5 separate regions of the Homo sapiens genome follow, and all the other regions are linked to region 5. Evidence: promoter capture Hi-C in 16 types of primary human blood cells and fetal thymus (Javierre and others, 2016). All regions are on one chromosome and are shown on one strand. Each heading gives the region's core, a stretch centred on a gene start or on the middle of the fragment in contact. The rest is flanking DNA. Distances are from core to core; before and after follow the strand shown.

The links. The method cuts DNA at HindIII sites, captures the fragments that hold promoters and counts their contacts. A CHiCAGO score of 5 or more calls a contact.
Region 1: a fragment that was not itself captured here is called in contact with the fragment with the promoter of POLR3A in region 5 in 6 of 17 cell types (naive CD4 T cells, total CD4 T cells, activated CD4 T cells and 3 more); the score reaches 12.0 in naive CD4 T cells.
Region 2: a fragment that was not itself captured here is called in contact with the fragment with the promoter of POLR3A in region 5 in 9 of 17 cell types (total CD4 T cells, total CD8 T cells, naive CD8 T cells and 6 more); the score reaches 10.3 in total CD4 T cells.
Region 3: a fragment that was not itself captured here is called in contact with the fragment with the promoter of POLR3A in region 5 in 2 of 17 cell types (naive CD8 T cells and activated CD4 T cells); the score reaches 8.6 in naive CD8 T cells.
Region 4: a fragment that was not itself captured here is called in contact with the fragment with the promoter of POLR3A in region 5 in 4 of 17 cell types (fetal thymus, naive CD4 T cells, total CD4 T cells and 1 more); the score reaches 7.2 in fetal thymus.

What each region holds. Positions count from the first base shown.
Region 1 is chr10:79,073,497-79,078,727 of GRCh38, forward strand. All of the region lies in intron 1 of ZMIZ1 (zinc finger MIZ-type containing 1), which reads left to right. Among named protein-coding and RNA genes, the nearest start is that of ZMIZ1, 7.1 kb to the left of the region's middle. The HindIII fragment of the contact is 597 bases long and covers 1,989-2,585 here.
Region 2 is chr10:79,148,051-79,153,523 of GRCh38, forward strand. The region is part of intron 3 of ZMIZ1 (zinc finger MIZ-type containing 1); the gene reads left to right. Among named protein-coding and RNA genes, the nearest start is that of ZMIZ1, 82 kb to the left of the region's middle. RefSeq lists silencers at 1,953-2,012, 2,073-2,152. The HindIII fragment of the contact is 2,773 bases long and covers 310-3,082 here.
Region 3 is chr10:79,031,549-79,036,941 of GRCh38, forward strand. The region is part of intron 5 of ZMIZ1-AS1 (ZMIZ1 antisense RNA 1); the gene reads right to left. Among named protein-coding and RNA genes, the nearest start is that of ZMIZ1-AS1, 33 kb to the right of the region's middle. The HindIII fragment of the contact is 7,741 bases long and covers 1-5,393 here.
Region 4 is chr10:79,119,958-79,125,140 of GRCh38, forward strand. All of the region lies in intron 2 of ZMIZ1 (zinc finger MIZ-type containing 1), which reads left to right. Among named protein-coding and RNA genes, the nearest start is that of ZMIZ1, 54 kb to the left of the region's middle. The HindIII fragment of the contact is 1,612 bases long and covers 492-2,103 here.
Region 5 is chr10:78,027,708-78,033,601 of GRCh38, forward strand. POLR3A (RNA polymerase III subunit A) reads right to left here and starts at 1,808. Exons shown (of 31, transcript NM_007055.4): 1 at 1,657-1,808. The coding sequence starts at 1,700. RefSeq lists an enhancer at 1,728-1,977. The HindIII fragment of the contact is 13,008 bases long and covers 1-5,894 here.

The sequences.
Region 1 (5,231 bases), core at 1,037-3,536, 1.0 Mb after region 5:
TTAACATGTTCTGCTACATGCCTTCTGCAAATCCACACCTCCTGACCCCACTCTGGGCTTGAGATGCTGGGGGGCCCTCCAGACCATAGACTCGTTCTTTCCTGAATGATCCTGGGTTCAAGACCAGTGCCTAGGCAGGCCCCTAGGTAGGGGGACACATTCAAGTGGCTGCTTCTAGCCCTTATTGGGAATGACCTGTTGTGGGGGGTGCAGAAGGGGGAAGGGTCTGCCTGGGGGTGCTCACTGTCATCTGCCTTTGTGTGCCAGGTTTGCCTCTGGGCACTTTCCTTGGAGCGGGGTATGAGAAGGAAGGGGGTGCGTGATGAGGGCTGGGGTTGGGTCGGGCCCGGCATGGGTGCCACAGGTGTTGACTGTGAGTGTCCACCCTGTGGATAAAGACTGTGTCCTGGGAGAGACCAGAACTGTGGAAGACAGTTCCTGTTCCTCAGGAGCCCACAGTCCAGTGCCGGCAGGAAGATCAGTCCAAATAAATAATTAACCGCTACCAGCTGGCTGCCTGCCACGGGCGCGTGATGACAGTAATAACCACAGCCCCTCTCCTTTGTATGGTACTTGGTGGATTTAGAAGCTTTTTCCATCTTTGTTTATCCCCAATAACAACAGTGTAAGCTAGTTACTATTTGGAATTATCCCCATTTAACAGAGCAGAAAACCAAGGTTCAGAGCGGTCAAACAACTGGTGGCAAAGTTAGGACTGAACCTCAGGCCTTACCGATACCAACCCCTGCGCTGCCTCCTTTCCAGTCCACTGAGTGAGCGCTCCAGCCAGGCTCGGACACGGTGCAGAGTCAGGATAGGCTCCAAAACTGGGTGCTGGGGGAATGAGGTGAAGGAGGAGCCATTCTCAGGAAGGGTCACAGATGGGCCTCACCTGTCTTCCCCCTCCCATATGGCAGCACATGGTCCATGCCCCCAGTAGCTGTGTCCCTTTCTTTTGGCACAGTGTCTTACAGCCAGAGCTTGCTTCGAGACACAAATCCTGCCTTGACTGCCCAGGGCACACAGGTCTATACATGGGGCTTCATGCCCTTCTCCGGCTCTGGAGTAGGAGGCAGAGGTGTTTCCAGCCCCCCGGGTCCCCATGAAGCCCAGTGCTCTTCCTTGGGTTCCTATGGTTTCTGTAGTCCCTCTTCGGGCTGAGTCAGTCCCCAGGCTATGTGGGGCACCCACTCCGTGTGAGACCTTAGGTTCTTTCTGCCCCTTGCAGCCTCCACCCTTGGGCCTGGTTTTCTGTAGCTCAGCTGAGTGCCACCCTAGGACAAGGCTGTAGCTAGTGGGGTTCAGGCCAGGGAGCAGCCGGGCAGGCTGAGCTGGCACCTCCCCAGGAAGCCTGGCCCAGCCTGGCACACCTGTGCAGGTAATGACTGTGGCTTGGGAGGGCCCCAGGCCCTGCCTGTCAGGCCCAGCTGCCGGAGTTACTGCAGGATTGTGCTGGGGGAGGCTGGGGTGTCTGAGCTAATTAGATTTCTTAGATTTCAATGCTCCCCTAATCCTGTTAGTCTGGCTGTAATTGTAACCACTTGAAGGTTTCGGCTGTGGCAGGCTGTTGAGGACAGACGGTGGGGGGACTGTGCTCTGCCCCAGCCCCAGCTCCACCCCTAGACAGCCAGCTGAGGGCCTGGGGACTGCCTTCTTAGGTCTTGAGGATGGGGGCTTGAGTGATGGTGGGTGTCGTGTTTTTCTGTAGAAACTGAGTATCGCAGACTGTCAGAGTGGACATAGCCCTTTGAGATCACCCAGCTCAAACCCTTCACTGTTCAGATGGGGAAACTTAGGCCCACAGAGGGACAGAGACTGGCTCAGGACCTTGATGGCTGGTAGCAGTGGAGCATCAAAGACTAGTGGTCTGACTTTGGGATATTTGTCCCTAGGCACTTCAGGGAAAGTCTGGAATTTCCAGGGACTAGTGAACCCTCCAGAGACTTCTGCCCCTAGAGATAGGGCTTGGGGGGCTTCATTTGTCCCCAAGCTTGTTCCCCAGTTGGCAGTTACCTGTCTTATATTCCCCCAGCCCTGTGTGTGTGCACACCTGCACACAGCTGCACACACATGCACACACATGCACACATGCACACCTGCACACATGCAAACGCATGCACACCTGCACACACATGCACACACTGGCCCTGCTGGCCAGGGCTTCTGCCAGGACTCCGGCTGCCTGGCCCAGGGTCCTGAGACCTGAGAGCTCTCTCCGTCCTCCCCCACCACTCTTAGCCAGATACTTGCCCTCTTGGAGCCTCTGATTCAATGCAGATCAGGAAATGGCCAAGCTGTTCTGATGGGGGTGTGTGTTAAAATACATACACTGTACTTTCCCCAGCTCTTTCTTCGAAAGTTCTGTTTTGGTGTCTGGCTTAAATGGAGATCTGTCCTCTCTCCCCGCACCCCATTCTCACTTCCCAATCCGCAGGGGATGACTGGCAGGGAGGATGGGGACGGTGTGCCTTGGATCTTCCCACTTAGGTCCTGTGCTGCCCTCCTCTTAGCTCGGGAGCTTCGGGGAAAGATCTGGAAAGCCCCTTCCACTGTGAACCTCTCTGACTCTGGGGTTTGAATTCCTAAGCTTGTAGCATAAAATTAGTGGGAACTGGTTGCGTTACCTGGTCTGGCCTTTCCTTTCCTAGCCCAGGAAACTGAACCATGGAAAGAAACACTTGGTCTCATCCAAGGTCAGCAGCGAATGGGTGACCGATCTGGGCCTGGAACCCCATCTCCGCCAGTCCATTAGCTCATGAAACATGTATTGAGTGTGTGCTGTTGGCCTGGCACAGCCCCCCTTAGCCACTCTTGAGCTCATTAATAAATGCTCTTCGGGTCTGATGAGAGGCCCAGCTGAACCTTGGGGGTGGGGTTCACTTCTGAGTGCTCAGGGTGAGGACGAAGGATGGGGAGTTTTCAGTGGCATTCCCAGACTCCCAGATCCTCTGCAGCCAGGGGAGTGTGGAACACTCCTGGTCTGGCATTAGAGCCCCTGCCCAGCAGCATGTGTCTTTACAGGGTGGTTGCATTGTGAATTTGAGAGAAGTAAAACAGGGCCGGGCACAGTGGCTCATGCCTGTAATCTCAGCACTCTGGGAGGCCTAGGCAGGTGGATCATGAGGTCAGGAGTTTGACACCAGCCTGGTCAAAGTAGTGAAACCGCATCTCTGCTAAAGATACAAAAATTATCTCGGCATGATGGTGGTGCACGCTTGTAGTCCCAGCTACTCGAGAGGTTGAGGCATGAGAAACACTTGAACCCATGAGGTGGAGGTTGCAGTGAGCCAAGATTGCACCACTGCACTCCAGCCTGGATGACAGAGCAGGACTCTGCCTAAAAAAATAAATAAATAAAACAAAACAGAAACCATCTAGGGAGGGTACAAGGTTTCTCATCTGCCGGGACCTGTTTAAGCCAAGAGGATGGTAGCTTCCCATACCTCCCCTCTCCCCTCCAGCCAGCCCTCCAGGAGCTGACCTTTGTCCTTTGCAGAGCAAATGACCCACTGACTTGGTCCTGCCTTCACTTCCTCTGTGTATGGGGAAGCAGGGAGGTGGCCTTCTCACCCCACCCTAGGAGTCACCTGCTGAGAGTCACCTTTGTCAGCCTAGGTGAGAGCACACTAGGAAGAGCCAGCTAGGCTCAGGACAAAGGAGGAGATGCCAGGTGCCTGGACCTTGCCCTGTCCACAGGGGTCCCACCCAAACTCCTACCCCTACTCCCCGGTGGACCTTGACCGCCGCTGGGAAGCACAGTGCACAGCTCTAACCACTCAGCGACCTAGCCAAGGATCAGCAGGGCACAGAGACCTCTGGGAAGAGTCCTGAAACCCTTTCCTGGTGTGTGCAAGTGGGACGCGACCTTATAGGGTCTCTGTCCAACCTTCTTATTTTCCACATGGGGAAACCCAAAGCCCAGAGAGGTGGTGGGATTGGCTGGGGGTCATACAGTGGGGTGTCTCACTAAGAGTGGGGGGTTCTGTGGTCTGGGTGGGGAGGGGTGGGGTTTTCCATCGAAAAATGGTGTTCCATCGAAAAATGCTTTGGTGTTCCTGCTGTTGTTTACATACTTAAAACAACTTGCCAAAGGTCTGCCATAAATATAATAGCCAGCATTTATTGGGCAACTAATGTGTTTCATGCTTTTCCCAGACTGCCTGGGTTCAGCCCTCAGCTCTGCTCTTTATGAGCTCTGTAACTTTGGGCAAGTAATGTTTAACTTCTCCGACTTTGGTCTCCACATCTGTAAAACAGGCTTACTAGTGGTGTAGTAATAACTAACATACTACCTCCTCCATAGGTTGAGAAGATGGAGTGCGCAAACTTCCTGGCACATAGTAAGTGCTCAAGAAAAGGTAGCCCTAGTCATGGTCACCACCAGCATTCCCATTGCCTTACCTCTGATTTACAGATGAGACGGTGAAGTCGATTGCCCAGGTCATGTGGTGCCTGGAGCCCAACCAAAGCGGCCTGCTGGCACCTAGGCTTCCTGATCTCCAACTCCCTGCCGTTTTCCACACTCTTGTGTAGCACAAAGGGCTGGCCCATCATCTCTGAGAGGCCCCCAGTCAGTCATAACCCAAGTACATTGTAATTCAACCTACTAGGGCAGCTTGTTCCCCTTGGAAAGGCGTTCGAGAGGGAGGTGTTGCATCTGGGCTTCTGTCTGAGAAGCTTATTTTTTTCATGTGTAAACTGAGGCTCATAATAACAATACCTACTTTTTGGACTCTTCTCGTGTGAAGGGAAGGAGGCCACAGAGGGACTGGGCTTGTCAGTTGTACCCTATTATGTGGAATCACTATGAATGGTAACTGACTGGAACTTCTGGCCAGTCACTCACCCCTCCGAGCCTCAGTTTCCTCATCTGAAGACCATGAGCCGAAACAACATAATCTCTTCCCGAAGTGGCTTCTCAGGGCCACCAGTCCCCAAAAGCAAAAGAGAGGGCAGCAGAGCACCCCCACCCCCAAGAAATTGTCAAACCTATTTGCCTGGAGGAGATGGCTCAGAGTAAATAGTTTGCTTCACTCAGCCTTTCCCCAGACTACAGACACCACCCACCCCCGACTTTTTTTTTTTTTTTTTTTTTTGGAGTGCAGTGGTGCAATCTCAGCTCACTGCAACCTCTGCCTCCTGGGCTCAGGTGATTTTCCCACCACATCCTCCTGAGTAGCTGGGACTACAGGCATGCGCACCCATGCCCAGCTAATTTTTGTATTTTTTTT
Region 2 (5,473 bases), core at 446-2,945, 1.1 Mb after region 5:
GGCTGTGGTGGCTTTTTGGGGCCATGCTTCTGAGAGCCCACCTGCATTCATGTGTCTGTTTGTCCACCTCCTCCCTGCTTCTTCCCTCTTTCCTTCCTTTGACAAACATTTCCTGGCAGCCAAGTCTGTATGGGGCCCACGCTCCACAAAAGATACATCCCTCACCCTGCATGATCACGGCCGAACTGGAATCCAGCAACATTCCAGGGTGGGCCCAGGGCCAGGCCCAGGTAAGGCCTAGGAGAGAGCTGGCTCTTGGCTAGGAGGCAGGGCATGGCTGACCCCACAGGCTCCCCTGGGTTCTGAGGAAGCTTAGGCGTACTTCCCCAGGATAGGCCAACGGCAGAGCCCACCAGGTGCCTGAGACAAGGGGGTGTAGAGAGCCAGCATCAAGGCCACACAGAGCATCATCAGACCTTGTCTCTGTTGTGATGAGGTCTAGGGTATTCAATCTGGAAGAGTCCCACAGGCTCGTGTGCTCAGGCTGTTCTAGGAAACGCCTGTCCGGAAAAGGGGTGGAGCTGGGTGGCCAGGGCTGAGGGTGACGCAGATCCGCCATCATGCCACCTACAACTGAATGTGGATTCTGGGCCGGGGTTTTTAATAAAGCTGCTGGGTCAGCATCCCAGAATGCTGCCTAGGCCTGTATGTCCCCAGCCTCAGCTTGCATATCTCTGGGGTCACGAGGCTTACTACTGCCGTCTTGTAGTTCCTCCTGGGACATGGGGTCCTGGCCTCCCACCAGGCTGACGCTGACTTCTGTCTTCCACCCTGCTTGTCTTAGGGCCACAGACTTTAGGCCCTTGGCAGTTTCCAATTGAGTCCCTCCCGGGCTTTCCTCCCTGCAGGCAGAGCATCAAGCTGGGTCTGTACGTGGCCCCGCCAGGGCCTGTTTGATTGGGGTAATCTGGACAAGTCATCAGTGGCCTGCGCTGGCAGCCAGGGTGTGGCTAAAGTCAGTTCCTGCCTAAGCTGGGCTGACCCACCTTCTCACCACTCAGGAGCTCCCGGAGCCAGGAGGGACTGCTGTGAGTTTGCCTTCATGAGGAGGCCCTTGGGCTGCCTTTGGTACAGGCAGGAGACCTGGATCCCTGCTCTGTCCCTATCTCTGTCCCTGTCCCTGGGGTAATCTCGAGCAAGGCTGGGCCCCAGGCAGGCCCACACCCCCTCCCATCTGTGTTCATCCCCAGCACTAAGCCAAGAGGCTTTTGTCCCTGGTGGGCTGTCGGCCAGCTGGAAGAGTCCTCCTTGCTCTCTGGCCTATTTGCTTTCTGAGTCCCTCTGCCCTGGGAGAGCATGAATGGGCAGGAGAGGGGACTGGAGAGGGCTGAGGGCCTCTGTTCAGATCTCTGCCCTCACTGGGTCGGGCTGCCAACCTCTGCACTCCCACCATACCCCCAACCTGTGGACAGGTGAGCCTCCAGTTCCTGAGGCCACAGGGAATGGGCTGGATTCACCTGGAGGCCATGGGTAGCCTTGCAGCCCCTGGGCCAAGCTCCCCTCCCACCCAGACTCCTCCAGACACTTCAGGGGTTCAGGCATGCCAAGTCAGGGTGGGGTGAAGGGGTCTTTCTCTAGGCGCTGTGCCTGTGGTTGACATCACGTTGTCCTCATGTGGGGCTGCGTGGCCCCGTGGGGTGGCACGCCTTCTGCAAGAGCTCGCCCTCCAGGAAGTTCTGCATTCGAAGCCTGAACTTGGCCTTGGTTCACTCTTCCTCTCATCCTGGTCTCTTGGGCATGACTTCTCCCAGGGGACACTGCTGTCTGCTGACTTGGAAAGGCAGGGATTCAATCAGGGGCCCCCGCTCAGCTGTGTCTGAAGTGTGCCCTCCTGGGAAGAAAACCCAGCAGCACTTTTGTCGAGGCCTCACACTGGAAAATGAACGGTGGGAGGCCTAGAGGTAAGAGGCCAAAGGCCACTAAGCAGGCCAGCGTGGCCTGCCCACTCCAGCCCCCAGAAAGCATTGGTGCTTCTGAGGAGGCTTGCTCGGCCCTCCCTCTCCCCTGGGCTGGGTGGGGCCAGTGGGACAGGAAGCCAGGGCGGGGCTGGAGGATGGGGCTCAGGGTGGCCTGGGCCTGAGCCAGGGATGAGGCGAAACCCAACCCTGGCCTGGCCCCGGGCCGCAGCCGTGCAGGTCACTAGGCCTCGGCGAGTGGCCACCCGCCCACCCAACAGGAAGCCCTGCCCAGACACCACCTTTGCCCCACCCCGTATTCTCTACGGCTGGCACTTCTCCTATTTCCCATGAGAGCTGCTGCCAGGAATCCTGCCCTCTTGAGAAAGGAAGCCCGACCTCGGGCCGCCCTGCCTCTGGCCTGCGCTGACCCCCTCCCTGGGCCTCCCCGTGGTGGCAGCTCTGGGCCCACGCCCGTCCTGCACCCCCCACACATGCTAATGACTTATCTCCTCTCAGACAAAGCCTGTGACCCTTGGGGACCTAGCAGGAGAAACCTCACAGTGGGACTAGGCCTGGGAGCCAGGAGGCTGGGGCTCTTGGTCTGGGATCCTCCACCAACCTGCTGGTGCACCTGGGCAAGTCACTCAGCCACTCTGGGTCTCATCTGTAGAAAAACAGGGAGAGGCAGACGCTCTGCCCAGCAATGAGCATCCCATGGGATAAAGGGTTTGGGGTGGGTTGAATGTGTGCCCTGTGAAGACAGCCAGGCTTGGGGGGTGATAACACAAAACCTCCCCATCCACCCCTGTCTGCCTGGAAAGGAGCCCCTTCTCTCATCTCCCAGAAGCCGGGCGACGGAGCATGCCTCCGTCTCTCAGCTCTGCTCAGGGAGCTGGGCCAGAAGCAGGGATGGGGCTGTGCTGAGGGGCAGGCTGTCCCACCACCCTCCCAACCCCATCCTCTTCCTCCCTCCTGGTGGGTGCTCTCTGACCCATGACCCACCTCCCCAAGTAAGCCCAAGCCCACCTCAGTATCAGCAGGGGTAGCAGCTTAGGGAATCAACTGTGTCTTAAAGGGGGCCAAGCAGAGGGGTCAGGGCACCACGGGGAAAGACCAGAGTCGTTGTGACATTGGATGGGTTAAGACAGATCCGGGGGCCACCTTGAGCTCCTGGGCGAGCTGAAAGCTTGTCAGCAGCAGGGAAGACCAGGCACCTGAGCAGCCAAGCCCCTGCCATGGGGTGGCCACAGCTCAGACTCTGGTGGCCTTGGACACATTGCTGCTCTGAGCCTCAGTGTCTGCATCTGGCAAGTGGACCTTTCAGAGCCAGTGTCTTAGGGTGCTGTGAGAAGTCCTTAAGATTTGGGGACACAGTGCTGGGCCCCCTGCGGCCCTTCCCTTTGAATCAGCCTTTTCCCTGTGAGGGAAACATTACAGGTCAGGATTAGGACTAGATTTCGTAGGCAGTGGGGAGCCACTGAAAGTTCTTAGAGGAGTAGTGAGTTCATGGGGAGAGGAACCGGCAGCAGAGAAGCCTGGCACACTCATCCGGTGTTGGAGCCCTGATTCAAGAGGGGTCATGGGGCAAAGAAAGTTAGCCCAAGTGGGTGTCAGCACCAGCTGGGCTTGGGAGGCCTCAGTTTTCCTCCTGTAGCTGGGTGCCTGTCCGCAAGGCTGGAGAGGCGCTGCTCAGAGCCAGCACTGAGGGTGGCACCACCACCCCTCCTTCTTCCTCTGGTGCCCCTGAGTCCCACCGGCGTGGGGTTGTCTGGGTTTGCCACTCAGGCCCGGGTGGGCCCCACTGCCTCTCCCTCCCTCCATGGCTTTCTAGCTCTGAATGGGAGTGGACTCTGGAGGCTGCAGTGGGCTGCGGGATGTGAGCCAGGGTGGGGGCATTGGCGGTGGGTGGAGTCACGGGCTGGGTGGCCATGAGTCAGGAATTGCTGGGCCTGTGTGTCATCTGGCTGCGTGCTGTGCTGGCTCCTCCCGCCTGTCTGCCTCATCTCGCCCGCCGCCATCTGGGCCCCCTGGGCTGCTCCACCAGGTGATGGTGCTCTGCTCTGTTTATAAGAGTTCAAAACGTAGGATGGAGTAGTCAGGGGACCGGGCTCTAGGGCCCAGGCTCCCCCAACACCAGAGGTGACCTTGGGCAGGTCCCCTTCCTCTTCTCTGAGCCAATTTCCCCCATTGAAGAGTGGATATTAGGCTGGCCAAGGGATTTCAGCCATGGCCCCAGATGAGATCCGAGGCAGCTTTGAAAGATAGCCCAGCCCAGTACAGTGGCTCACACCTGTAATCCCAGCACTTTGGGAGGCTGAGGCAAGAGGAGCACTTGAGCTCAGGAGTTTGAGACCAGCCTGGGCAACATGGCAAAACCCTGTCTCTACAAAAAATATAAAAAATTAGCTGGGTGTGGTGGTGGGCGCTTGCAGTCCCAGCTACTTGGAGGGTTGAGGTGGGAGGATCGCTTGAGCCCAGGAGGTCGAAGCTACAGTGATCAGAGATTACACCACTGCACTCCAGCCTGAGTTACAAAGTGAGACTCTGTCTCAAAAAAAGAAAAGAAAGAAAAAAGATAACCCACCCCAAACAAGTTAAATCAGATCTCCGGGGCGGGGCCTGCGGCCAGGCTTGAAAGCTCTAGTCTGGATGGCCTCAGACGGGCTGCTTTCTCCGCCCTGCCCGGATCCCCAGGCAGCACTGTGGGCTGGTGCATGGGTTCTGGAGCCCAGAGGCTGTGCTGAGTACAGCTCTACCACTTTCTAATACTGGGCAAGTGAATTCATGCCTCTGAGCCTCTGTTTCCTCATCTGTGAGATGGGGCTAACACCACCCACCTTATAGAATCTGTACCAGTGTCAGCCACCATGTTCTTTGATCTAAGCCAGTTATGCACCACTGCTGCCTTCACTGCCCATTCATTCTTCCAGAAAATATTCGGGGATTCCTGGACCTGCCAGCCTGGTACTGGGTGCTGTGGCAACAGGAAGAGGAAACCCACCATGGGGGTCCAGCCTTTTAGGCCTTTCCAGGGCCCCAGAGGATGGGTTCTGTCTGTTGATGGGCAGGTGAAGGGTGACTCCCCTGAGAATCTCACCGTGTCGCTGGACTGAGGGAACCCCTCTTTCTGAAAGAACGAATGAGACCCCAGATTCAAGGGAGAAGAAGGGGCATCCTAGGACTTCCCTGACAGCCTCAGCTGGGAAGCCCCTGGGGAGGCTCTGAATGCCTTCTGGGGTGGGCCCTGGGCCATGCTCTGGGCAGATGCTGGCTCAAACAGGGCTGGCAGTAGACAGAACAGAATAAGGACCCTCCTCCTTGTAGTCCATCACTGGGCTGGACTATGTCCTCCATCCCGTGGTCCTCCTGGCAGCCCAGGGCATTGGCAGGCATCGTTCCTCCTGCTTGGCAGATAGAGAGACAGAGATGTCAAGGGATGGGAGGCACTTGCCTAGGTCAAGGGCTGGATTTGAACCTCACTTCTGTATAAACAAAATCCCAGTGGGGAAAGTCGAGCTTCCCTGGGAATCTGCCCTGGTGGGACTAAAACGTGATCGGCAAACCTGTCATCCCCT
Region 3 (5,393 bases), core at 1,521-4,020, 1.0 Mb after region 5:
AAATATATTGTTATTAGAGGCTGTCTCTACCTACCTACTGTACAAGGAGATGGAAATGTACAAAGAGGTTTATACAACCAGGAACTTTGTGGTTGGTTGGCCTGTTCAGATCTTTTGATAAAATGCAACGTGACTCTATCCTTCTGGAAGCCCATTCCAAACCCTTTTCTCTAACGCAAATCCCAGCAGTGCCCTGGACCCCTAGCTCTGCCATTTTCTCAGTGGATCCGTCAGTGATTCTCTTGTAGGTGCACCCTGTCCTGTGCTGCATTAAAGATTACCCAAATGCTTTGCAGCGCTTCTCACCAAAAGATGAGGTCTATTTCTCCACTTCTTGATTTCGGGCTGGCCTGTGACTCACTTTGACCTGTAGAATATGGTGGCAGTGATGCTGTCACTTCCAAGACTGGATCTTAAGATATGTGTAGCTTGTTTTTGTTTTGTTTAGAGATAGAGTCTCACTCTGTCACCCAGGTTGGAGTGCAGTAGTACAGTCATAGCTACTGCAGCCTCAAACTCCTGGGCTCAAGTAAACCTCCCACCTCAGCCTCCCTGGTAGGTAGGACTATAGGCGTGACTACCATGCCTGGCTAATTTTTTTAAAAATTTTTTATTTATTTGTAGAGACGGGGGTCTCACTATGTTACCCAGGCTGGTCTTGAACCCCCAGGCTCAAGCAATCTTCCCACCTTGGCCTCCCCAAACGCTGGGATTATAAGCATGAGCCACCCGTCCCAGTCTATAGCTTGTTTTGGAGCATTTCAAACACTCTTCTTAGAATCCAGCTGTTTGGCTGTGAGGAGCCTAATCAAGGTAGAAAGTCCTCATGGAGGCAGCCCCAGCCAAGCCCCCAACCAGCGTCCAGCATCAGCCCCCACCATCTGAATGGGCTGTGTTTATGCTCTGGTCAAACCCTTAGATGACAGCAGCCCCAGCATACGCCATGCGAACCAGAAGAAGTGGCCAGCTGAACCCAGTCAACCAAGAACTGTGAGGGATAACACAGTAGTCCCCACTGACCCACAGCTTGTGTTCAACCGTGGTCTCATAATATTAAATGGGAAAATTCCAGAAATAAACAATTCATAAGTTTTTAATTGCACACCATTCTGCATATCGAGATGAAATATTGCACTGTCCCACTTCATCCTGCCCAGAAGATGAATCATCCCTTTATCCAGCACAAGATGTCTACACTCCCCACTCCTTCATCTCTTAGTAGCCTTCTTGGTTATCAGATCAGCTATCAGGGTATTACAGTGTTCCTGTTCAAGGTCGATAGAAACCTAATGCTACATCAAAATGCCTACATTGAGCTTGTCCAATCCGTGCCCCACAGGCTGCATGTGCCCCAGGATGCTTCTAATGCGGCTCAACACAACTTCATAAACTTTCTTAAAACATTATGAGACTTTGGCCTGGCATGGTGGCTCACACCTGTAATCCCAGCACTTTGGGAGGCTGAGGCGGGCAGATCACCTGAGGTCGGGAGCTTGAGACCAGCCTGACCAATATGGAGAAACCCCGTCTCTACTAAAAATACATAATTAGCTGGGCATGGCAGCGCATGCCTGTAATGCCAGCTACTCAGGAGGCTGAGGCAGGAGAATCGCTTGAACCCGGGAGGCGGAGATTGCGGTGAGCTGAGATCGCGCCATTGCACTCCAGCCTAGGCAACGAGAGTGAAACTCCATCTCAAAAAAAAAAAAAAAGAAAAAAGAAAGAAAAATGAGACTTTTTTTGCAATTTTTTGTCATCTCCTCAGCTATTGTTAGTATATTCTGTGTGTGGCCCAGGACAATTCTTCCTCCAGTGTGGCCCAGGAAAGCCAAAAGATTGGGCACACCGGTTTACATCATTCACCTCCCCTCATCTCATCACATAGGCATCTTATCATCTCACATCATCACAAGAAGGGTGACACAGGACAATAAGGCATTTTGAGAGAGAGATCACATTCACATAACTTTAATAAACATATATGATTATTATTGATCTATTTTATTATTACTTACTATCATTAATCTCTTATTGTGCCTACTATTTTTTGTGCTATTTTGCTTTGTTTTTTTGTTTTTTTTTTTTTTGAACAGAGTCTAGCTCTGTCACCCAAGCTGGAGTTCAGTGGTGAGATCTTGGCTCGCTGCAACCTCCACCTCCTAGGTTCAAGTGATTCTCATGCCTCAGCCTCCCAGGTAGCTGGGACTACAGGCACCCACCACCACACCCGGCTAATTTTTGCATTTTTAGTAGAGACGGGGTTTCACCATGTTACCCAGGCTGGTCTCAAACTCCTGGCTTCAAGTGATCTCCCCGTCTTGGCCTCCCAAAGTGCTAGGATTATAAGCGTGAGCCACTGCGACTGGGCAACTATGTCTAAGTTTTAAATTAAACTTTATCATAGGTGTGTATGTTTAAGAAAAAATATAGTGTACATAGGGTTTGGTACAATCCATGGTTTCAGGCATCCACTGGGGTTTTGGAACGTATGCCCCAGGGATGAGGTGGGACTACTGTAAATGTTTGTTGTCCAAAGGCCCTAGGTTTGAGGCCAGAATGCCCCTCTGTACCAGCTCTTCCCGTCAGCTCTTAGACATGCCCAAGTCTCTCGTCTGAAGTTCTGCTTGATCCCCGTGTTCCTCAGCAGCTCCAGCCTTCACTCACTCCCCCACTGGCTCCCCTTCCGCCACTCCTCCAAGAGGGTACTCTCCAAGATCACCAGGGCCTGGCTGTACCTGAGTCCTGTGGTTGATCTGATTTGCCTGCTTCCTGGGGTCCGCTGCCTCTCCTTTCAATACTTTCCCCAGTGCTCCTCTCGGTCCTCACCTCTACTTCTCCGTGCCATTTCTCTCAGGCCACTATGTACCCCTGTTCCTGCTCTTTCAATCCTGGGGATCCCCGGGTCTCTGGCCCGAGCCCTGTGACCTGCACCATTTCCACTCATTTCCAGGCAAGCTCATCCACTCCCTGTTAGACACCAACATCTCCCAAGTCCCTACGTTCAGCCCACATTTCCTCTCCAGGCCAAAATGTTCAACTGCCTGCTAGACTTTGCATTTGATCATCTTGCAATCACTTCAGCCTCCACAGTTCCCACATGTACTCATCATCACCACACTCCCTGCCCCTCCTCCCTCACTCCTCTTCCGAAGATTGGCACTGCCATCTATTCTGTTGCCTGAGTCCCAAATTGGGATTCAGTCTCTTTTCTCTCTGCACCCCACCTAAAATCAGTCACCAGATCCCGGCAAGTCAGCCTCTAAATTGGTCTGAAATCTATTGTTCCTACTGCTGTCACCTGTTCCCAGGCTACTGCCATCCCACGCTGGACCCCCACCCACACCTGTGCACTCAGTCCTTTCTCCACTTGGAGGCAGAGACCCTAATTACATCACTTTCCAACTCAGAGTCCTTCCACAGATCCTGCTGCCTCTAGAACAAAAGCCACACTTGTCGATGTGACTTAGGTGCTCTCCACATCTGTCCTAGGACCACCTCTCAGCCCCAAATCTGACCACTCCCTAGAGTCACACCAGACTCATTCCTCTAACCTGCTGCACACTCACACATGGGTCTTCACACCTCTGCCTTTTTTGCCAGGACACACTGCCCTCCTCCATGGTTCAGCAGACACCACCTCCTGCAGGCCTTGACTTCCCCAGGGAAGCCTAATCTGGCCCCCTACACCATCCTAGAGTGGCTGCCCTGCTGTCTACCCAACCACACCCTTGCCCTGCCCTGCTTTCCCTTCCTTCAGGACACGTCTCCCTTGATGTCAACCGCTTGGTGAGTTATTTGTCTTCTCAGCTGAATGGGTAGCTCTGGGTAATCAGGAACCATTTATCATGGCCTAGCATGGCATCTGGCATGGGTAGGCACTCAATAAATATTTGTGAATTAATGAATGATAAACGTCATCACCTTGCCTCCTCCAATCCCCATGAAAGACTGATTTGAACAGATTTCTACAGGAGTCTCTGCCTTCACCTCCCATTCCCCTGCTCAGCCACTCAACACCCATTTGGGGAGCACCCATTCTGTGCCCAGCCCTGGGGTGGGCATACAAATCACAAATGAATGGATTAACAATACTATTCAGAAATAAAAAAGACCCAACTACCAACACACACAGCCACAGGGGCAAATCTCAAAAGCAATAGGCCAAGTAAAAGATGCCAGACACAAAGACTGCAGGCTGGATGAGTCCACTTATGCGACATTCTAGAAAAGGCAAAACTATAGGAACAGAAAACAGATCAGGGCTCCCAAGGTGCATGTCAAAGAGGAAGAGTCAGGTGGCAGCTGAGTTGCATTGTTCTTGTCTTTAGAGACAGGCAAGGTCTCACTCTGTTGCCCAGGCTGGAGTGCAGTGGTGCAAGCACAGCTCACTGTAGCCTCAACCTCCCAGGCTCAAGTGATCCTCACACCTCAACCTCTCAAGTATTTGGGACTACAGCCATGCATCACTACGCTTGGCTAATTTTTAAACTTTTTGTAGAGACAGGGTCTTGCCATGTTGCCTAGGCTAGTCTCAAACTCCTGAGCTCAAGGGATCTTCCCCCTCACTTAGGCCTCCCAAAGTGCTGGGATTACAGGCGTGAGCCACCAAACCTGGCCTCGAGTTGCCTTCTTAGAACTAACCACATCATTCACCATCACTTCTGACACATTCTGCTCATGGGAAGCAAGTCACTACAGCCAACCTATATCAAAGAGGAGAGGAATTGAAGTCCACCTTTTGATGGGATGAGTGTCAAAGAATGCGGAGAACTGGTTTTTGTTTTTTTTGTTGTGTGTGTTTGTTTGTTTGTTTTTGAGATGGAGTCTTGCGCTTTGGCCCAGGCTGCAGTGCAGTGGCATGATCTCAGTCCACTGCAACCTCCGCCTCCTGGGTTCAAGTGATTCTCCTGCCTCAGCCTCCTGAGTAGCTGGGATCACAGGCATGTGCCTCCATGCCCAGCTAATTTTTGTATTTTTAATAGAGATGGGGTTTCACCATGTTGGCCAGGCTGGTCTCCAACTCCTGACATCGGGTGATTCACCCACCTCGGCCTCCCAAAGTGCTGGGATTACATGAGTGAGCCACCACGCCTGGCCTAGGGAACTGTTTTTAAACCGTCATAGTTTCCACTTGCCCTTCTGGCACCATGGCCACAGACGCTAACACTCACAGTGTCTACAGGTAACAGAGCATCATGGACATCTGGTGGCCCAAAGGCAGCTCTTTTTTATTGTAAGAATATAATTATAATAATGTTAAAAGAGTATTTGGGAAGAAGAGAAAATCAGCCCTCATTGCCACTTATTCTCTGGGTGACTATAAGTCATTTAGCTTCTCTATGCCTCAGTTTTTCTGATCCATAAAACAGACATAATTCTAATTGCTAACACAT
Region 4 (5,183 bases), core at 48-2,547, 1.1 Mb after region 5:
GCCTGTCCCACTCTCTGCTCCGTGGAGAAACAGAAAGATCCCAGTGATGTGGCAAGCCCCATAACAGTGGCGTGGAGAGGGTTCAGAGGCTGGGGGGAGAATTCTGGGGAGGTGACCACAAGTGAGTTACAGTGTGGGGAGACAGAAGCATAGATGGAGCAGAACCTGGCAGGATGTGCATGCACACACAGACATGAGTGGTGGTGAGTGCATAGATAATACAGATGTGCAAATGTGCGCTTCCTCACAAACGTGTACACAGACGTCGCTTCTGCATGCCACATGAATGCACACAGATAACACTTGCGTGCACTTGCATGCTCACATACACATGCACAAACTCGTGTTGGAACTACACACATACACGGGCACAAACTCTCACAAGCACACAGCATTCTGACACACGGGGCTGCATATCCATGCACACACAACGCAGGGTGCATTCCAACAAGAAGAGGCAGTTCAGAGGTCGATGGCTCTGCATCGGCAAAAGCTTCCAGCAGCTCCTGGGAGGCTCTGGACAGCCTGGGCCGAGGCTGAGCTGGAGCTCTGTTTGTGTGTATGTTGGGGAGGGTGTTGGGGCTTGAGGGCCAGCCATGTGACTGACCATGGACAAGCCCTTGCCCGCTCTAGGACTCATTCCCCATCTGGAAACAGGAATCGTCCCTGTCCGCCTCCTATACGGTGGCCGCAAGGATGAGAGGCTGCTGTGTAGATTGCCGAGAGCAATTTTGGGCACTCTGCAGGGCTTCAACAAATTGAAGCTAGTAGTCTCATGAGAATAAAACAGGTTACAGGTAAAGTGGGGATGTGGGGGCTGTTCCTCTCCAGGCTTCTCATCCCCTGGGGCCTGGGTACTCTCTGAATCATGGGCATGACAGTCCACCCTGCCTGCCTCCACCAAGGTGGTGGGGTCTGTGTCATCCCTGCTCCCGCTCTCCCACCTGCACTTCCCTGTTGACTCGTGAGGAGTTGGGGGCCTGCAGTGCCCAGCTTTGGTACAACAACCACATTTGACTCCCTGCCAGGAGACTGGCACATTGCCTCCATGAGTGCTCTAAATCCCCTTGAGAAGCCTGAGAAGGCCTTACCAAGCAATTTCCAGATGAGGAAACTGAGGCACAATAAATGCAGGTGAGGTTCTCAGGGACACCTGCTCATAAGTGTTGGAGCTGGGCTTCGGATCCACGTCATCAGATGTGAACATTTATGCTCTTTTCTCCCATGATCTCCTCTCAGGGATAGGTCATTTATTACCCACTTTGCAGATAAGGAAACTGAGGCTCAGAGAGGGCAGGCCACTCAGCCAGGAAGTAGCACAGCCAGAATTGGGTGCTTATTAACCACACTGCACCCACCTCAATTCAACACTTCCTTTTCCTTTCCCTCCCTCCTTCCCAGAGAGCCCCTCCAGGTTAGAGGGGGTTCCCGAGGAGGCTTCTGGGATTATCTGGGCTTTAGTTCTGACCTAGTATTCCCAGGCATACCTGCCATTTTCTTGCAAATAGAAAGATAGGCTATTCTCTGGGGTCTGCTTTCTAGCATGACCTAGTAACTTCCTCTCCACAACTCCTTTGTAAAGTATCCTTAGGATTGTCCTTTGGAAACTTGGCCAGCAGAAAGCTCTGGGGTACCCAAGAGGCTTGGAGGAGTCCTAGGCCTTTGGAGAGGTAGCCACTGCTTGCATATCCACTGGGAGGCTCTGTGACCTGCTAAAGGATCAGGGTGTGGGACCACAGCACAGGGAGCCAAGGTTCTGCTTGGCATGGGTGGTAGGTACCACTATGGAAGGAAATTGGGAAGGATCCCCGGGAGGTGATATTTACGCTGGGCCTTGGAAAGAGGAGAAATTTGCTAGGTTGATGTCAAAGGCCAAGGAAGACCCAGCAGAAGGCTCAGCTCCACCAAAGTCCCAGAAAAGTGAGAGTTTATTCATGGCCCTTCGCACCTGCATCTGTACCCAACAATACCCATCAGAGTCTCCTAGAATTAGGGCCAGCTAAATAATTTAGCTGTGGTCCAATGCTAAATGAAAATGCAGAGCCCTTTGTTCATGAATTACAAAGGATTTCAAGATGATGACAGCAGAGTAGGGTCCTTCTAAGCTTGTGGCCCTGTGTGACGGCCAGTGAAGCCAACCCTGCTTGAGTAAGTGTAGCAATTGTGGGATTTAGCGCCAAGAACTGAGTTCACGTGCAGGCGCCACCAGTTACTTACCAGGCCCACGACCTTGGGCAAGTCCTCCTCATCTCCATAAGCCTCATCTGCCAATGAGCGATGGTACCCTCCTGCCTGCAGAGGAGGGTCAGTGGTGCCAGCATCTAGCTTATCCCAAGCAGTCCAGGACAGAAGCTTTGGCCGGGGTGGAGTGGCAACTCTTTCCGTCACGTAGTGATGTTCAAGGCTCTCCTGACCCACCCCATTTACCTTCCAGCGCTGCCCCTGTCTACCTTGGTGGCCTGGTTTTTTGTGCTTTTCCAAATCCACCTGGCTGGGCAGTGGAGGGTATGGGGAGTCTACTCTGTTTTATTTGCAGAGCCTCCTGTCTGGACTGCTCCTTGCCCACACTCCCATCTCTCCTTGGCAGACTCACTCCTGCAGGTTAGATGTCATGCAGATTTCTTTGACCCCCCAGCTCCTCCCTTCCAACCTTTACTCTGTGATACCTTCAGTAGCTGCAATGACCTCTTGCACTATAGAGTTCTCTACAGTGTGCGAAGTCCTTTCACACCCATCACACCCTGGAGAGCTCTTGAAAGGCCCTATTCCCATTTGCTAGATAGGAAAACAGAGGCTCAGAGGTACAACCATCCTAAGTTCCTGGGCTGAGGTCAGACCCACATCGGGTAGGGGTGTAGACAGTGGCAGCAGAGAATGGTACCTAGGCTCCACCCTCGGCCGCCTCATCTTGCAGCATTTGGGAAAACTGGCTTTTCCCTTCTGGTAGAAAGCTCCAGCCCCTGGCCCAGGAGAGGTATGTGGGTTGCTGAAGAGGGCCTGGTAGAGCGCAGAGGTCCAGCCAGCTAGAGCAGACTAGCGCCCAGCCCTGCTTTTCCCCACAAGTGATGTGGCCCAGTTCACGTGGCTCGGCGGACTAGAGCCAGGTATACATGGCTCTGAAGTCTGGGGCAGAGGTGAGAAGGCCCTAGCTGGCCTGGGCTGCAACCGCAGGCAAAGGCTGGCCACAGATGAGAGGGGTATCGTGTCAGGGGCATGACAAACTGTTCCATATGGCTGGCACTTCACAAAAGACACTCAAAACACTCTTGGTGGATGAGTGTGGAGGATGCTGGCAGATTGCGGCTGTGGACCGGGCTGAGGCATGGAGGTTTTCCAGCTCTGTTACCCCTTTCTTTGTGGCTTCTGATGAGCGACTTCATCTCTCTGTGCCCCATTTCCTCATCTGTAAAATGGGGAGAATATCCCTCTAGTTGGGAGGGATTCAACGAAGTAAGCCATGGGCACTCTCACAGCCATGCCTGGAGCATGGTTAGTGCTTTCTGGCACTTTCTAGCATGAAGAGTGGAGGTGGCAGTAGCGGGAGTGAGTAGGGGGTGGACTCCAGGGCTGTGGCCACACAGGAGGGTTTCCTCCACTGAGCAGCATGGTTGTGCGGTCTTTTAAGAGAAGGTGGAGAGGGAGATCAGGGATTGGGGTTGGGCTGGATTTGGATTTCATATGAGGCAATCCCAAACAGCTGTTGCTCAGAGCTCTGTGGGCAGCCACCTGGGGTGAGGGCTGCACTCTCCTCGCCAGCCCCTCCAGCCCCTGGTGTGTGGCTTTAGGCTGCCGGCATGCACACCCTAAGTTGTCAGTCAGCAGACTTCCAGGGTTACATAGGCGGTTTGGGGCTGGCCATGAAGACCTTGAATGCCAAGCCCAGCTCACAGCAGGCCTGGCCAGGGCCCAGCCCGTGGCCACACGGAGCTGGGATTCCAGGGTCCGCATATGGCATGCCTGTCAATCTTCAGCGCCAGCTGAGAATGCACACCTCTCCTCCCACTGCGTGAAATCTGTGGCCTGCAGCCCAGGCCCTCCACCCCAGCCTCTGCAGCCTGCTATGACTCCACAACCCCCACCCAAGCCTGGATCTGGGAATCGTTTGCAGCTCACTGCTTATTCCTGCCCAAGGTAGGATGCCCCTCTAGGTCAGGAGGGTGGGACTGCTGTCCTGGTGGGCCCTCTGAGCAGGACTTGTGTTCAAGCCTCAGTCCCATTAAGAACTGCTGTGTGACCTTGGACAAGTTGCTGCCCCTCTCTGAGCAGCTGTTTATTGGTCTGTAAAATCAGAGGATTGGGGTAGGTCAGGGATTACAAACTGCAGTCTTCAAGGGTGTCAACAACCCATTGAAGTTGGGACTATCCTGTTGTACAAATGAGAAAACTCAAAGCACAGAGAGGTTAAGAAACTTAGCCAAGGTCACACAGGTTATAGTGGAGCTAGGACTCAGCCCAGTTTTATCTGACACCATAATATGTGTTTTCCCTACCACAACAAACTGCCTGTCACAGATACTTGCTTGTTTGCTGGGTGATCCATTTTGTCCATCAGCCAGCTTGGTGTTGAACACTTCCTTGTGCTCCTGCACCGTGCTAGGCCCTGGTATCCAATAGTGAATCTTCAGTTGAGCTGGGAGAGCACAGCTCCAGGTCCGGAGTTCTGAGTAGAGGTCACAGTCTCCAGTGCAGGGTTGCTAGGTAGGTGCAGCTCTTTCCTCATGCTGTAGGAGGCAGCCAGAGAAGACTTCCTGGTGGAGGGGTAAGGGGAGTGGGGTTCCTATACAGAGTGGAAGAGTAGGGTCTTCCTGGGGTCTCTGCACAACTGGGTGGCATGGGTCAGGGCAGTCCGGCTGGGGAGGAAGATTCATTCAGCCACAGCTGAGGCAGCCCCTGAGGGCCTTGAATGCTAGGCCACAGAGTTTGGCCATGAACCTGCAGGGAGTGGGGAGCTAAAAGAGACTGCAGGGCAGTGGCACCTCCTTTGTGAGAGCTAGGAGGGCTGGCCTCAGCTTGCAAGCTAGGGCAAGGGTGAGGTGTGGTCCAGTCTAAGACTTAGTTCACCCAGGAACTGTGGCAGCAGGAAGAGCAAGGTTGGAGGCTTGTCCACTGGCCGGACCTTCATGCTCCACCACGGCCTCTTCAGCAACCCAGGCACCTCTGCTGGACCAGGCGCTGGGGCTTTC
Region 5 (5,894 bases), core at 558-3,057:
GCCACCGCACCCAGCTAATTTTTGTATTTTTAGTAGAGATGAGGTTTTACCATATTGGCCAGTCTGGTCTTGAACTTCTGACCTCATGATCTGCCTGCCATGGCCTCCCAAAGTGCTGGGATTACAGACGTGAGCCACCACTCCTGGCCTCTGCTAGAGGATTTTAATTGACAATACCCTTAATTTGCACTTTGACAGAAGCACTTTCTCTGTTTTGTGAGAATGTATTATATCTGACTGGGCGCAGGTGTACAGGTGGGTGTGAAGGGCCAGTGTCGATGTAGAGCTACCACATGGGAGAATGCTGCATTCACCTAGGTAAGACACCTGTTCTAGTGAATGGCAACCATCCACACAGCTGCCCAAGCAAGGCATTCTGTATATCCGTCTCAAGGTCTCTCGACCTCTAATTCTTTCCACCATGAATCAAGAGATTTTCCAGAAGGAGAACTCTTATCAAGATACTCTCCTGTTGAAAATCCTTCAAAGGTTCCTCACTGCCTACAAGATGACTTCTTAACACAGCTTCAAGTCTTCTGCTTCCTTCTGATCACCTGTGTTCTCTCCCTCAGGTCTGCTCCTTGAAAAAAGCAGTTTGGTCTGCTTTCTTTTGCCTGGACCCATTATGTGCTCTCAAAACCCCCTGGACCTACCCTTGTCATTGCACTTGTCGTACCCAGTGTTGACTTGTGTACCTTCTCCAACTAGATTAGGCAGTAAAAGTTTTATTCAGACCGTATCTTTAACGTCCAACACTGGGAATAACGCGCAGTATCCTCCTCAGTGTCTGCTGTAAGAATGATGAATTCACTTTTTTTTTTGAGACACCGTCTCACTCTGTCACTCAGGGTGGAATGCAGGAGGTTGCCCACTGCAACCTCTGCCTCCCAGGCTCAAGTGATTTTTCGGCCTCAGCCTCCCGAGTAGCTGGGACCACAAGGGCGCGCCACCACGCCTGCTAATTTTTGTATTTTTGATAGAGACGGGGTTTCGCCACGTTGCCCAGGCTAGTCTCAAACTCCTGAGCTCAGGAGATTCACCCGCTTCGGCCTCCTAAAGTGCTGGGATTACAGGAGTAAGCCACCGCGCCCGGCTGGATTCACTTTCTTACCGAGAACTCTAAGAAGGAGCCACCGCCTAATAACGTATTTCTGAAGGCAAAAGTCCGGATAGCAGCTTTATTTCTGACACTGCCATCCGTCGGCCTGTGGTACAGCTTTCTAGTGGGCAACCCCATCCTTTTGGTAAGCAACTACTGCCTCCGTGTCAGACGCTCTGCGGCTGACAGAATTAGAGACAGTCCCCGCCCCAGATTGCTCCCCTCGCTGCAGCAGGGGATAGTTCGCTGAAGAACAGGGATCATTGTATGACTTCAGGAGAATGCGAGCTTTGGCCCAGGGTGCACAAATCATTAAGGCTCAGGCCACTCCGACTTCTCCGCCCAAGTCCAGGGACCTCTCGAGGTGCTGAAATCCCCTCAGCCTGACCAATGCTCTTTGACCAACGCTGGTAGTTCTGGGCGCTGGTCACACCTATGGACTACTGGCCCTCCCCTTCCCATTGCACCCCATCTCTGACCCTGCAAGACCCGGGACCGCTGACCTCGGACCCCTTGCCCTATTTCTCAGCCCTTTGGCCACTCTTACTCCGTCTTACATTTTCTTGGCCACATCCGTCTCCCGGAACTGCTCCTTCACCATGATGACCGCTGCCGGGACGCCTCCTTGGCACTCGGGAGGCCAGATTAGAGAAACGATGCCCCCAGCACCTCCTGGGGCTGCTTCTGGACTCGCCGCTAACACATCTGCGGCATCCTCTCGGCCACCGTAGAGTGTCCCACGTGTCCGCTTCCTCTTCCGCTACTCGCCCGCGCGTCTGTCTGTCAAGAGAGACTTCCGGCATGCCTTTTTTTTTTTTTTTTTTCCCTTTCCCCGCACCGTCACCTGGTGGCGCTTACTGGAAGCCGCACCGAGGCGTGTGCTGTATTTTAAAAATCCCATTTCTGGTCAATTTCTCCACGTAATCAGACACCCGCAGAGAAACTGCATATAACTCTTTGCCTCAAGGCTTTTAGACAAGCAGAGGGCCAAAACTTGCATAAAATGGAAAATCATCATCATTAACATCAGTACCATCTAAATTAAGAGCTTCTAATTGTTTTAAGGGAAGGTGGAAGCTAAAATGAACCGGCCCATCCAACAGAGGGCACTATCTGTGGAGGACCAACAAAGGAAAACAGAGCGGAAAATATGGGCGCACATGTGCCTCCAGTTCATGAAGTTATTTGGAGGGAGGGGGGAAGAATTAAACTTACATTATTGATTACAAAAACAGTTGAAAATCTGTTAGAGTGAAAACAGCCATGGTAATCTACAGAAGAAAAGGGAGAATGGAAAGTAAAGATCATTCATGTCTTGAAATAAGTTGTCTACAGTCTGTGAGAACTTGTGGGAGGTGATCCTAGTGTGATATATTAGTGCATGAGCCTAGCAAGGAAATCACATCACCACAGGGCTTAGCGCTTAGAATTAGAACTAAGTCCTCATTATTTGTGAGAAACTCAAAACAGAACTTAACAAAAGTGTTTAACAACTTTCAATTTTTAAGAAGGGACGCTATCTCATTTTCAGACGCCATGGATCCTCACTAGCAAAACACAATGTCACAGACAAACGAGGCATATCAGGTTTTTCTAACTCATTTCGGTACTCCATCACTTAATCATGAAATAATGTTGACTATATATATATATATATATATATATATATAGTCAACATTATGGGTTTTTTTTGTTTTTTTTTTTTTTTTTTTTTTGAGACGGAGTCTCGCTCTGTCGCCTAGACTGGAGTGCAGTGGCGAAATCTCGGCTCACCGCAACCTCCGCCTCCCGGGTTCAAGCGATTCTCCTGGCTCAGCCTCCCGAGTAGCTGGGACTACAAGCGCCCGCCACCACGCCCAGCTAATTTTTGTATTTTTAGTAGAGACGGGGTTTTACTATGTTGGCCAGGCTGGTCTCGAATCCCTGACCTCGTGATCCGCCCGCCTCAGTCTCCCAAAGTGATAGGATTACAGGTGTGAGCCACCACACCCGGCTCTGATGTTTACAATATTATACCAACAAGGGTTGGATCGTGTGTGACTTATCTAGAGGTTAAGAGCAAAAGTTATGAAATCACAGTGCCATCATGGGAGTCTAGCTTTCACCATTTAAAGTTGTGTAGGCAGCCAGGCGTGGTGGCTCACGCCTGTAATCCTAGCACTTTGGGAGGCCAAGGTGGGCGGATCACCTGAGGTCAGGAGTTCGGGACCAGCCTGGTCAACATGGTGAAACCCCATCTCTACTAAAAATACAAAAATTAGCTGGGGTTGGTGGTGTGCGCCTGTAATCCCAGGTACTCGGGAGGCTGAGGCAGGAGAATCGCTTGAAGCTGGGAGGTGGAGGTTGCAGTGAGCCGAGACCATGCCATTGCACTGCAGCCTGGGCGACAAGAGTGAAACTCCATCTCAAAAATAAAAAAAAATAAAAAATAAAGTTGTGCAGGCCGGGCGCGGTGGCTCACGCCTGTAATCTCAGCACTTTGGGAGGCCGAGGTGGGCAGATCATGAGGTCAGGAATTTGAGACCAGCCTGACCAATATGGTGAAACTCCGTCTCTACTAAAAAATACAAAAATTAGCCTGGTGTGGTGGCGCATTCCTGTAATTCCAGCAACTCAGGAGGCTAAGGCAGGAGAATCGCTTAAATCCGGGAGGCGGAGGTTGCAGTGAGCCAAGATTGTGCCACTGCACTCCAGCCTGGGCAACAGAGCAAGACTCTGCCTCAAAAAAAAAAAAAAAAAAAATATATATATATATATATATAGATATAGATATAGATATATGTGTATATATACACATACGTGTATATATACACGTATATAAAGTGTGAACTTGGGAAAGTTATTTAATCTTATTGTGTGTTAGTTTCCCCATTTATAACATGGGTGAGTAATATGTATCCTATTTCTTAGAGTCAATGGGAAGGTTAAATAGCAAAATGAAGGTAAAAGTAATTAGAATGTAACAGGCACATTACAATCACTCAATAAATATTCTTCTGCCTCAGCCTCCCGAGTAGCTGGGACTACAGGTGCGCACCACCATGCCTGGCTAATTTTTGTATTTTTAGTAGAGACGGGGTTTCACCATATTGGCTAGGCTGGTCTTGAACTCCTGACCTCGTGATCTGCCTGCCTCGGCCTTCCAGAGTGCTGGGATTACAGGCATGAGCCACCGTGCCCAGCCGGCTGACTATTTTCTTAAGAATAAGGATAGTTGGTCACCTCGGGAGGCTGAGGCAGAAGAATCGCTTGAACTTGGGAGGCGGATGTTGCAGTGACCCGAGATCCCGCCACTGCACTCCAGCCTGGGTGACAGAGCGAGATGCGGTCTCAAAAAAAAAAAAAAAAACAAAAAACGAAAAAAAAGAAAAATAGTCGGCCGGGGACGGTGGCTCACGCCTATAATCCCAGCACTTTGAGAGGCCGAGGCGGGGGCGGATCACTTGCGGTCAGGAGTTGGAGACCAGCCTGGCCAACATGGTGAAACCCCGTCTCTCCTAAAAATACAAAAATTAGCTGGGCATTGTGGCGCAGGCCTGTAATTTTAGTTACTCTGGAAGCTGAGCCAGGAGAATCGCTTGAATCCGGGAGGTCGAGGTTGCAGTGAGCCGCGATGAAGCCATTGCTCTCCAACCTGGGTGACAAGAGCTAGACTCTGTCTCAGGAAAAAAAAAAAAAGAAAATAGGAAAGCTGCCCGCAAAGCCTGCACCTTGGACACCTCGTCTGCACTAACATTTGGGAAATTCTTCTTATTATTTCTCCGGAACATATATATTTACATTCTTTACATGTCTGTTTCACGTTAAAGAAAATATTTCTGGAGCAATCAATTTTTTTTTCCTTTTTTTTTTTTTTTTTCTGAGACGGAGTTTCGCTCTTATTGCCCAGGCGGAGTGCAATGGTGCGATCTCGGCCCACTGCAACCTCCGCCTCCCGGGTTCAAGCGATTCTCCTGTCTCAGCCTCCCAGATAGCTGGGATTAGAGGCATGCACCACCACGCCCGGCCAATTTTTTTTTTTTTGTAGTAGAGACGGGGTTTCGCCATTTTGCCCAGGCTGGTATCGAACTTCTGACCTCAGGTCATCTACCTGCTTCGGCCTCCCAAAGTGTTGGGATTATAGGCGTGAGCCACTGCCCCTGGCTTCCAATTTTTTTTTCCTTTTTTTTCTTTTCTTTTTTTTTTTTTTCTGAGACGGATTTTCGCTCCTGTTGCCCAGGCTGGAGTGCAATGGTGTGATCTCGGCCCACTGCAACCTTTGCTTCCCGGGTTCTGGCGATTCTCCTGCCTCAGCCTCCCGAGTAGCTGGGATTACAGGCATGAGCCACCACGCCCCGCTAATTTTGTATTTTGTATTTATTTATTTATTTATTTTCGTAGATACGTGGTTTCGCCATGTTGGCCAGGCTGGTATCGAACTCCTGACCTCAGGTGATCCGCCCGCCTTGCCCTCCCAAAGTGCTGGGATTACAGGCGTGGCCATCGCGCCCGGCCAAATATTTTTCAAAATCTAATTTTGCATAATGACCAAGATTTGCAGAAAAATACAAATTAAAGAGATCTTTTAAAGTAAAGATTCGTCATAAAAGTCACAGAAATAATACTCATGAATAATAAATTAGAATGGGCAATGTTAAGTACTTGAAATAACAAAGGTTTTAGAGTCAGGGTTTCTGCAGTTTCCCTAGCCATATAACGAGGAGACTGTTAGAGAGGATATCCTAAAATGCTTTCCAAGTTTACCCACCTCTAACTCGGAAGAAGGCAATTTAAACTAATTTGGTTTACCGGAATT